Linked DNA regions of Homo sapiens: region 1 is linked to region 2. Evidence: promoter capture Hi-C in 16 types of primary human blood cells and fetal thymus (Javierre and others, 2016). All regions are on one chromosome and are shown on one strand. The core of a region is centred on a gene start or on the middle of the fragment in contact, and the rest is flanking DNA. Distances in the headings are between cores, read along the strand shown.

Region 1 (5,379 bases), core at 1,225-3,724, 230 kb after region 2:
TCCTTATTCTACTTGGCCTCCCAGAGACTCCTGTCTTTTGAAACTCTCAACACCATCATTGTTCCTTGCTATGATTTTAAACCTTCTCTGAGGGCACAGGTTCCTCTGCTGGCCCTTCAGCTGTTGGTGTTTTTCAGGACCTGAGGTCTTCTTCCACTGTCCTCACTGGGAACGTGAATGCCGCTGCTTCCCAGATCCCTGCCTTCAGTTCAGGTCTCCCTGTTGAACTCAGGTCTCATCTGTGCAACTTCCTGCTGCACAGCTTCCTGTGACCATCTCTCAGGCGTCTCCTACTCAACAGGTTCCATCATCCCTACCTGTCTTGCTCACGCAGGCATCCATGCTAGCGTTCACCCCATAAATACTTCTCAGACACCCATTACCTGCTAGTCACTACACGTGCTGACCATACAGCTGTGACTCAGCCACAGTCCCACCCTCATGGGGCTTATCCAGGGGACATGGTGTCACCATGTGCCCAGTGACCCCAGCCAGAGCCTTCAGTCATCCTTACCCCTGACCTCTCCCACTTACCATTGTTTAGTTGGTAGATTTGATCTGTTCTTCTTCCTGCCCAACTCCGGAAGCCTCCCCTTCCTCTGCCCCCACCAAGAGTGTCTTTTCCCCAGGCCCTTGTCATTTTGCTCTGGGATCATCGGGAAGCTCCTCACTGCTCTCCTATCCCCAGACTTGCCGCTCTCGAATCCATTCTCCATGCTGCTAGAGTAATGATATTTCTGAAATCACATTTATGATATTGCCATTTCCCTGTATAATATTCTCCCAAAGACCCTCATAGCATTCCATGTAACATCTAGCCTCCTTGGCATGGTAGAAAAGGCCTTTTAGGTGACCTGGCCTCATCTGCTTCTTTTTTCTTTCTTTTCTTTTTCCTTCCTTCCTCTCTTTTTTCTTTCTTTCTTTCTCTCTTTCTCTTTCCTTCTTTCCTTCCTTCCTTTCTTCTTTCTTTTCTTTTCTTTTTTGATAGGGTCTTGCTCTGAAGACCTTGGAGGCTGGAGTGCAGCAGTGAGATCACACCTCACTGTAACTTTGAACTCCTGGGCTCAAGTGATCCTCCTGCCTCAGCCTCCTGAGTAAGTGGGACTACAGGCATGCACCACCATGGCCGGCTAATTTTTAATTTCTTTTTGTGGAGACGAGGTCCTGCTATGTTGCCCAAGCTCCTCAAACTCCTGGCCTCCCCATCTGCTTCTTAGTCTTCTTGTTACCATTCCTCCTGAGACCTACGCTCCAGCTGTGGGGACATTTCTCAGGCCTACCCCCTATGCTGGTGCCAACCCCTTCACCCAGAATCCCTCCACCCGACGCCAGCCCTAGCCCCTATTCCTTTCTTTGATTGCCTGCTCCTAGTCATCCTTCAAAGCTTGGTTCAGCTGCAAGCTTCCCAGTATGGCTGTGCAAGGGGCATTGCAAAGAGGTGGAGGGTGCCCTGTGCACATCTGAGGTCACTGTAGATTATGACAATTTTCTGGTACATAGTGATAAAATGAATGGTGCCACTGAGGTCATCAGCAGGGCAACTTCTGTCACTTCCTCCTGGAAATGTTCACTGGCCCTCCCAGTTTGCGTTGGGTGACTCTTCTCTGTCATGGCCATGTCATACCAAACTGTGACTGTTTATTAGTATCCATGCTCTTTTGGAGGATGAGCTCTTGGAGGACAGGACCGTGTCCTTCCCTTCTGTATACCTGGCACAAGAACTGATGGGCAGTCCGTGAAGGTTTGTTGAGTGAATGAGCGTGTCCCCGGTAACAGAGTGCCGTGGATAAGGCCCCAGGATCCTGAGTTAGAATCCTGGTGCTGCCTCTCCCATGCAGGGTGACTTAGACACAGCACTCCACAAGTAGCCACCCCATACCTCATACAAAGAGTATGGGGCTCAAGTGAGAAAGTGGCTGCCAAGCACTGAGGGAATGCATGGTGATTCTTACGACTGAATATTTTCCAGTGCTGAAGCTGCTTCTGTGTTGTGCTTCCTAGTCCACTTTTCTGGACTCCCTCTCTCGGTTTGTTTATTATTATTTTAATCCTCCTGAGTTTTACTAGAGAGGCAGCACCATCTTGGTAAATATCTTAACTGCCAGCTCCTGGTGGGGGGAGGGGGTGGAAGTTGAAGTGGAATTCAGTGCAGTGATGTGTGAGATAATGGAACACACACACATTACAGCTAAAGTCCAAGGGAAAGGCTGTCAGAATTAGCTGGATTCTCCCGGCGTCCTCTCTGCACCGGGGCTTGCGATCTGGCCCTCGGCCGCAGGTTGGCACAGCCTGCTTTGTTGCTGAGATGCCCAGTTTCCTCTCGCTCCTGCCCTCTGCTGGCCGGAATCAGATTCTTTCCCGCATATTTGACTCTGTTGCCTCTGGGGATCCGCCTGGGGATCCGCCTGCGTCTCGGGGGCCTGGTTTTCTTTGCTTATTCACTTGCTTGCTGGAGTGTCTATTCCCTGCTTGCTGCATTAGAAGCTATGGGGTACACAAGTGATGCTGGTCCTCAAAGTCCACCTTCAAGGAGCAAGAAATTTGGATAATCTTGGAGAAGCAGAAGCCAGGACCTCAATCCAGAACTCTGTGCCTGGAGCAATGAAGGAGTTATTGTCCCCAGACATGGCACACCAGATTGCAAATTTATAAAGACAGGGAATCATACTTATGTAGAGCTTCGCAATTTACAGAGCACCAAGACATACATTTTCCAATTTAACTCTTTTTTTTTTTTTAGACAGAGTCTCACTCTGTTGCCCAGCTAGAGTGCAGAGTGCAGAGGAACAATCACAGCTCACTGCAACCTCCACCTCCTGGGTTCAAGCAATCCTCCTGCCTCAGCCCCCCAAGTACTTGGGTCTACAGGCACTTGCCACCACGCCCAGCCAATTTTTGTATTTTTTGTAGAGACAGGGTTTCACCATGTTGCCCAGGCTGGTCTTGAACTCCTGACCTCAAGTGATCTGCTTACCTCAGCCTCCCAAAGTGTAGGGATTACAGGCATGAGCCACCATGCCTAGCTAATTTAACCCTTTCAAGCAAACCACTGAGGATGGTATTAATGAAATAAAATAGAAATTGTGTTGGGAGACTGACATTTACTGTCATCAGATGTGATTACTGGCAAACATCTTGTTAGTCAGCTGATGTTATGTCTCACCTCAAAGGACACACTTGATGGGTGGGTGGGGGAAAGCCAGTAAGCCAGGAGTTTCAAAGGAACACTGTGTGGTCTGACCCACACTGTCTTTCCGTAGCATCTGAACTTTCTGTCCCTGCCTCTCCAGCAATGTCTGAGAAGATCAAAGTCTGAGGAGACAGATGTGACTCCTGGAGAGGCATCCAATGGGTAGTTCTCCACTTCTGCCTTGCAACCGTGATCCCAGAAATTCTGAAAGGGCACTTTTAGGATTAAAAGCATTTAGCTTCGTTTCTTCCTTTGTAGGAATGGAAAATCAAAATCACTCTGAAGTCGTGGTTTCTTTTAAGATGCAAAACAACTCCTTTCAAGCCATTGCTTTTAAATCTCTCACATTCAAGCTTAAATCAGTGAGTGACATTGTCACCGTATAATCCGACTGAGTTAAATCGAATAGTGGGAAAGTGGCCTTTTCTTTCTTTAATCTTTGACAAAATAAGGCAAATTCTAAAATTATGCCCAACAGTCTATCAGTAGTCTTTGTTGTTCCACATGTTCAAAGAGAAATGTCTATAAACTCTCAGCTGGTGTTTTTCTAACCCGGAGGCATTCTCTTCCCTACCAGGAAGGGAGGAGTGACTAACATATGATGCTGAGAGAGGCCACTAGGAAAGAGATGGCTGAGAGGGAGAATTTCTCCCGGTGTCAGAGGCATGCGAACCAGAGCAACTCCATCTTGAATACAGAGCTGGGTAAAATGAGGCGGAGACCTACTGGGCTGCATTCCCAGACTGTTAAGGCATTCTAAGTCACAAGATGAGATAAGAGGTCAGCACAAGATGCAGGTCATAAAGACCTTGCTGATAAAGCAGGTTGCAGTAAAGAAGCCGGCCCTATCTCACCAAGACCAAGATGGCCACGAGAGTGACCTCTGGTCGTCCTCACTGCTACACTCCCACCTGCACCATGACAGTTTACAAGTGCCATGGCAATGTCAGGAAGTTACCCTGCATGGTCTAAAAAGGGGAGACATGAGATTCACCCCTTGTTTAGCATATCATCAAGAAACAACCATAAAAATGGGCAACCAGCAGCCCTCGGGGCTGCTCTGTCTATGGAGTAGCCATTCTTTATTCCTTTACTTTCTTAATACACTTGCTTTCACTTTATTCTATGGACTCACCCTGAATTCTTTCTTGCACAAGATCCAAGAACCCTCTCTTGGGATCTGGATCAGGACCCCTTTCCTGTAACACCTGCACTGCTATTCCGACCATAGTCTTGGATGCTTTGAGGTTGTGATAGCTGCACAGGTGAGAGGGAGAGCCCTCACTCAGAAATTTTGCTCTCGAAACTCAGAGGCACAGAGCAGACTTAGGACGTGCTGATGTCCACGCTCACAACATGCATGTTGCTCAGTTCATACAATGTGTGACGCACGTCAGACAGACCCACCTTCAACAAAGCACTTTTATGTCTCAAAACAGGAAGCATCCAAAAAATGCAGCCACCCAACTGCTTCCTTCCAGTAGAATCCTCCTCTTGTCCAGGTTTCTATCCTATCTGTGCTTCCCATTTTCTGTCCTAGAAGTGAAACTGCCTTTGCAAAATTATGACTGAGACAGTGAGAGAGATCTAACTTAACCGACTGCATCTTGCTTCTCACCTCCAAGCTGTCTGTGTTCATTCCTGGGCGTAAGCTGAACTAACTTTGGGAGAAACTTAGTTTATAGTTTAAACAAAGACACTAATAGCTCTTTGCCAAAGCAGACCTCCTTCTTGCTTGGAGACTAGATTGCCTTTGTAGGACTAACATTAGCCACAAGATTAGAAATTATGATTTAGGAGTCGTGCAGCTGGAGGCTACAAGATTCTGACCCTCCCTAAACTGCTCCTAGAAATCAGTGCTTGAGATATATTTGCAGACCCTGCACTTGATGGATCAGCTGGCACCACCCCATCAATAAACTGGCTCACCTGATCTTGTGGCTCCCACCTAGGAACTGATTCAGCACAAGACAGCTTTGACTCCCCATGATTTCATCTCTGACCAACCAGTACTCCTGGCTTACTGGCTTTCCCCCACCCACCAAATTATCTTTAAAAACTCTGCTCCCCAATGATCAGGGAGACTGATTTGAGTAATAATAAAACTCCAGTCTCCCATACAGCCGGCTCTGCGTATATTACTCTTTCTCTATTGCAATTCCCGTGTCTTGATGAATTGGCTCTGTCTA
Region 2 (5,291 bases), core at 1,514-4,013:
TAGAAACCAGCCTGGCCAAAATGGCACAACCCCGTCTCTACTAAAAATACAAAAATTAGCCAGGCATGGTGGCGTGTGCCTGTAATCCTAGCTACTGGGGAGGCTGAGGCAGGAGAATCACTTGAACCCAGGTGGGGGTGGCGGTGTTGCAGTCAGCCGAGATCGCACCACTTCACTCAGCCCAGGCAACAAGAGTGAAGCTCCATCTCAAAAAAAAGAAAAAAAATAATCACTTTCTCCAAGAAAGGAAAGTAAAACAGCTAGCTAGCCCTTTGGAACACAGATGGGAATTTCAAGTTCAGAGCCATTTTATCCAATAGTGATGCATTTAGGATATGTTGAAAGTTTTAAACAACTTTCTAGTAACATAAGGCTCTCTCCTACAAACATTCTCTGGACCAGCAAAGCCACCAAATGCTACAGCTGCTTTTTAAAAATAGTTTCATTTTACTTAAACAAAACAGACTTTAAAAAATTAAGTTTTCAGGCCAGACGCAGTAAGTAGTTCATGCCTGTAATCCCAACGCTTTGGGAGACCAAGGCGGAAAGATCACCTGAGCCCAGGAGTTCGAGAACAGCATGGGCAACATAGTAAGACCCCATTTAAAGAAAAGAAAAGAAAGAGAAAAAATTAGCCAGGCATGGTGGCATGTGCCTATAGTCCCAGCTACTCAGGAGGCTGAGGCAGGAGGATCGCTTGAGCCTGGGAAGTTGAGGCTGCAGTGGGCTGTGACTGTGCCACTGCATGCCAGCCTAGGCAACAGAAGAAGCCTCTGTTTCAAAAAAAAAAAAAATTTTTTTTTAAAGTTTTCTACTGAAAAATGAATGCTAGGTTAAATGACAAATGTGGACTGCACATGAGTTGAAGACGAGCCAATTCCTTTCTTACATTCTCTGTTCTAAAATCTGGTATACTGTAATCACCACCGTGATGTAAATCTCAGCCCAAACTTCAGCTCCTAATGGAAAATATGCACTACATTACTGTCATTAATCATTTTTAAATCTTCACTTTTGAAAAAATAAAATCTCTTTTTTCTAAGCTGCTTCAAAGAATTCTTGAATGTGTATGAACTTGGCTTAATGTTGCCGTAATCCAACTGAAGGACATCTTAATCTATTTGATGAAACAGTAGTTTTGTACCATGAAATTACTCTTTCGCTTCCGATAAATGTGGTATGAAGTAGACATCTAAAATGGAATGGAAATTTCTGTGGTTTTCTTTCAAGGCCACACCAAATAACCAAACTTAGACTCTTCAGGACAGCACAAATTAGAATAATCTGAAAATAACTTAATCTACAATTCACTGCCTACTTTTGATGCTGAGACTACTGGAGACATTGTTTCAGTAATCAAGTGACTGAGAACAAGCTGGATAAATGCATGTTAATGAAATGATTAGGGAATCAGAAATAGGAGAGATAGTCCTTCCAAGACATACATCCGAACGGGAGTCGATGCATACAAATGTGAAAAGAAGGCTAGAGGCATCTACAAAGCAGCCTGCTGCATTTGCCGACCACCTCAAGTACGAGTGACCCCGGGCTGCACCTTGTTTAGCTAGGAATACCGGCAAGCTGTTACAGCTGGACGCCTAGTGGTGGGAGCTTACTCTCGGGTGTCCACATTTAGAAGTCTAACAATCAGACCTGGTTTCACGTGCTTTGGTGCTACCCAGGTTTTCCTTATAATGGTTAGCACAAAACAAGGGACCCAGGTTAGCGATACCAGGAAGCCACGCATTGAATGACATTACAGAAACAGCCACATAAAAGTCAGGTGGATGGTGTCACCTTGGCAAGCAACTTAGCCTCTTTAGGCCTCAGTTTGCTCATCTGCAAAATGGGGATAATAATAGCTTTTTAGTAGAATTGTGAGAATTAAGTGAGATCACGTACTAAAGCCCATAGCACAATGCCAGTTTCAAGGCTTCTGAAGTCCATAGGTGAAATTCGCTGGCTTGGCAGGATCTAAGACAGCATAAAGGTCATGGTATATTTGTTTACAAGTTCTATAAATTGCAGCACCGATGCTTCTCGACCAAGTATTTACGTGGGACAAAGCTGCCATCAGCGGTTTCTCCAGAGCCTATGTTTTGGGGCTTTTGTCCCCATCCCCTCCAGGAGTGGAGCCGCCAACACAAACCAAAGGGCAATCACTGGTTTCATCAACAGGTGCAAAAGAAAAGGCGCCAGGCACAGGGTCAGGCCGGCTAAGTCAACACCCCGGGATCCTCATGAATACGCAAAGCGCCCCAGCCGGCTATCCAGCAACCATATCCTCTGGCGGCGCGGGCCGGAGATCCCCGTGGAGGGGCGGCCGGCCTCCGTGCGCCACCGGCCCAGCCAGAGTGCTCTCTCGAGTCCCCAGCCCCACTTCATTCAAACAGCCACCCCTCTGCGCGCGACCCCTACGCCCCGGCAGTCCCAGCGCCGCCCGATCCCCTCGGGAAGGGGGGGTACCCGTCTTCCCGAGGCTGGGCGAATGCGGGCGCCCTCTCCTCCGGGCGTCGCTGCCCCCGGCCCGGACTCACCCAGCGTGGCCACCGTGCCGGCCTCGAACAGCAGGCAGTCGTCGCGGCCGCGCGCCTCCAGCAGCACGCTACAGTCCCCCTCGGCCCCCAGGCGCCCCAGCAGCCGCAGCCCTTTGCTCAGGGCCATGAGGGTCGGGCCCACTGCGGGCGGGGGCCGGGGCCACGTCCTCCCGAGGGCGCGCTGCCCGCGACAGCTCCCCGCGCGCCCGCAACTTGCCAGAGTTTCACTTTGCGCCGCCGCTCCCGCCGCGCCAGGCTCCTCCCCGGCCTCCTCCCCTTCCTCCTCCTCCCCACTCGCGCCTCCCCAGCCTGGGGCAGGTGAGGGCGCGCCGCCGCCTCCCGCCCGGCCCCGCGCTCCCCCCAGCGGCCAGGCAGCTGCGCGAGGCCGCGCCCCGGGGCTGAGGCTCCCCGCAGGCGGGCGTGGAGCGGAAGAGCCTCCCGGATGCCACGCATTCCTCGCTGCGGAGGAGGATGCCCCGCGCGGGGCGACCCCGGGAGCCTGGCTGCGATGCCGGCCGCCCGCAGCCTTATATGGGCAGCCCGGCCCGGGAGTCCGCCAGGCTGGACCCGCTGACTGTTCCCGCCGGGGGCGCTGCGCCTCCCTGTGTGGTCGGCTCCTGCGACCCTGGACGAGTCCTTTCGACCCTGCGTGCCTCGGTCTCCCTGCGGGGAAGCGGGGTCATAACTGCGCCTACTTCGGCGCGGAGGCCTGAGTTAATTCGCGGAGGCGCTTAGCGGGTGCGGAGCGCGTGGAGCGGGCTGGAGAAAGGTTACCTTTCACTAGCGTTCTATCCCGGAGGCTGTTGCGGTCACCGACCCCGCCAGGGAGAGGTGTTGGGGGTCAACGGTGCGTTGTCGCGAAGAGACCTGGAGCCGTGATCCCCAGACCACGACCCCCACTTACCACGTGACCCTGACTTCTCTGCGCTCCACCTTCCTCTCCTGTCAGATGGTGACAGCGCCTCTCCCACCGGCTCTGGACACCGGCACGTGTCCGCGCGTGTACGCTGGAGTGTGTGGCCCGGCCTTCTGGCGCGGGGTTCTAGCGCCCAGGCTTGGCCTGTCAGAGCTGCAGGGGAGGTGGGGTGGGTATGGGTGTTTAGGGCTGAGTTGGAGTCACTCTTTGGGGTGGTTTGGCGGCTTAATTCCCTTCGCTTGTGATGGGTACGTGAGGATGGCCCGAGAAGCCTCCATCAGCTGTTTCCATCCTGCCCGCAAACGAACTCAGTTCCTCTCTCACCCCATTCTGCTGTACTGGGCCAAGCTGTTTGTCTCTGGGACTTGTCCTAGAAAGGGCAGAGCCCCCAGAGCCAAGCAGAACACTGCCATGCCCCTGCAGACATTCAGTAATGACCAGACAAGCCATCCTCAGGGGACAACCTCTCAGGTGATGGTTGGGTAATAAATTTGAACAACCCCAGCAGAGATTATCTTGACCCTTAGCCCCTTTCCTTGCCCACAAACTCTGCCCAGGTCAAGCATGATGTGCTCAATATCCCAGGCATGATGCTCATCAGCTGTCCGAGCAGCTTCTTTCTGTGTAGATGGAAACATTACTACCTCATGAAAACAGTGTGCCCATTCAGTGAGGCAGATCAGCCTTTGGCCCACTTTTTGACCTGAAACTCACTTCTTCCAGGAAGCTTTCCTGGAATGCTGAGGTCCCAGATAATAGTGCTTATATAACACCCAGATTTACAGACTTCAGTTCTCACCTACTCATATGTTGCTTGAGAAGTGTTTTTATGTTTTCTCTTAGCCCTGTTTTGCAAATTGAGTGGTAAGGCCTTAGGGAGGGGACCCAGTCTTCCATTTATCTCTCTCTCCTCTTTCCTAACTAGCATCATATAGTCTAAAGTCCTGCACAGTGGCATGCCATACCTATTTTAGAAATTTTCCTGCAGTCAGGACCAGCAGTTGAGCCTCACAGCTTATAGAATCCAAGTCACCATCAACTGTAAAATGAACCACTATTTTATGTACCACTGAGAAAAAAAAAAAAACTTCCAATTAAACTAGAACATGCCACCAATAGTCATCTCTGCCCTGATTTAGACAATGTTAAAATGCACGTCTCAGACTCAAGGAACTACAGTGGCTGTTCCTCCGTCTCTGAGAAATGGCTGGGTGAGCCAAGAGCCTGCTGGGTTTTGGGGCCTCTGCTGTCTGGTTTCAGGTGGGACAGCCCACCTGGGTGGCAGAGGGAGCAGCTTCCTCACATGCGCACTGGCTTGATAGACCAAGGGTACCCAGGCACAGGCACCTTTCGCAGATGGAGCAACTGACCTTGAGGCCTTCAAGGAAAAGGTTGGCTCAGACACCTAAACCCCCAGCGGCGTTTGGGCAAAGGGGTGGGCCCATCTGCGGCAGGAGAGTTGGGCGCTTCCCCTCTCTGAGATGTATAATGCCTGGAGGGTAGGGAATTGGGAAGGGGAGGAGATGGGGAAGGAAGCAAAAGCCAACTCCACCAGCCCCAGAGTAAGCCACAGCAGGAAATGTAGCTCAGCGTGGTGTGGGTGAGGGAGTCAGGAACCCCAACAGGTTATCAGAGGAAACAAAGAGGGGAAGTAGGGGAGACATGCACTGAACGTTTGAGCCACCCTATCCCCACCCCCTGTTGCCCTACCAAATCCATATGTTGAAGCCCTGACCCCCAGTGGAATGGTTTTTAGAGATGGAACCTTTAGGAGCTCGTTAGGGTCAGATGACGTCATGCCAGTGGGGCCCTCTCAATAAGAATGATAGGATTAGTGT

The links. Contacts are between HindIII fragments. The CHiCAGO score rates a contact against its expected background, and 5 or more counts as called.
Region 1: a fragment that was not itself captured here is called in contact with the fragment with the promoter of SYNJ2 in region 2 in 4 of 17 cell types (endothelial precursors, activated CD4 T cells, fetal thymus and 1 more); the score reaches 6.7 in endothelial precursors.

Annotation. Positions count from the first base shown.
Region 1 is chr6:157,753,777-157,759,155 of GRCh38, reverse strand. No RefSeq gene overlaps it. Among named protein-coding and RNA genes, the nearest start is that of SNX9, 67 kb to the left of the region's middle. RefSeq lists a silencer at 3,545-3,839. The HindIII fragment of the contact is 2,142 bases long and covers 1,404-3,545 here.
Region 2 is chr6:157,979,335-157,984,625 of GRCh38, reverse strand. SYNJ2 (synaptojanin 2) reads right to left here and starts at 2,763. Exons shown (of 27, transcript NM_003898.4): 1 at 2,538-2,763. The coding sequence starts at 2,664. RefSeq lists enhancers at 2,482-2,997, 3,198-3,247, 3,268-3,457, 2,998-3,513, 3,478-3,527 and a silencer at 2,498-3,077. The HindIII fragment of the contact is 11,440 bases long and covers 1-4,182 here.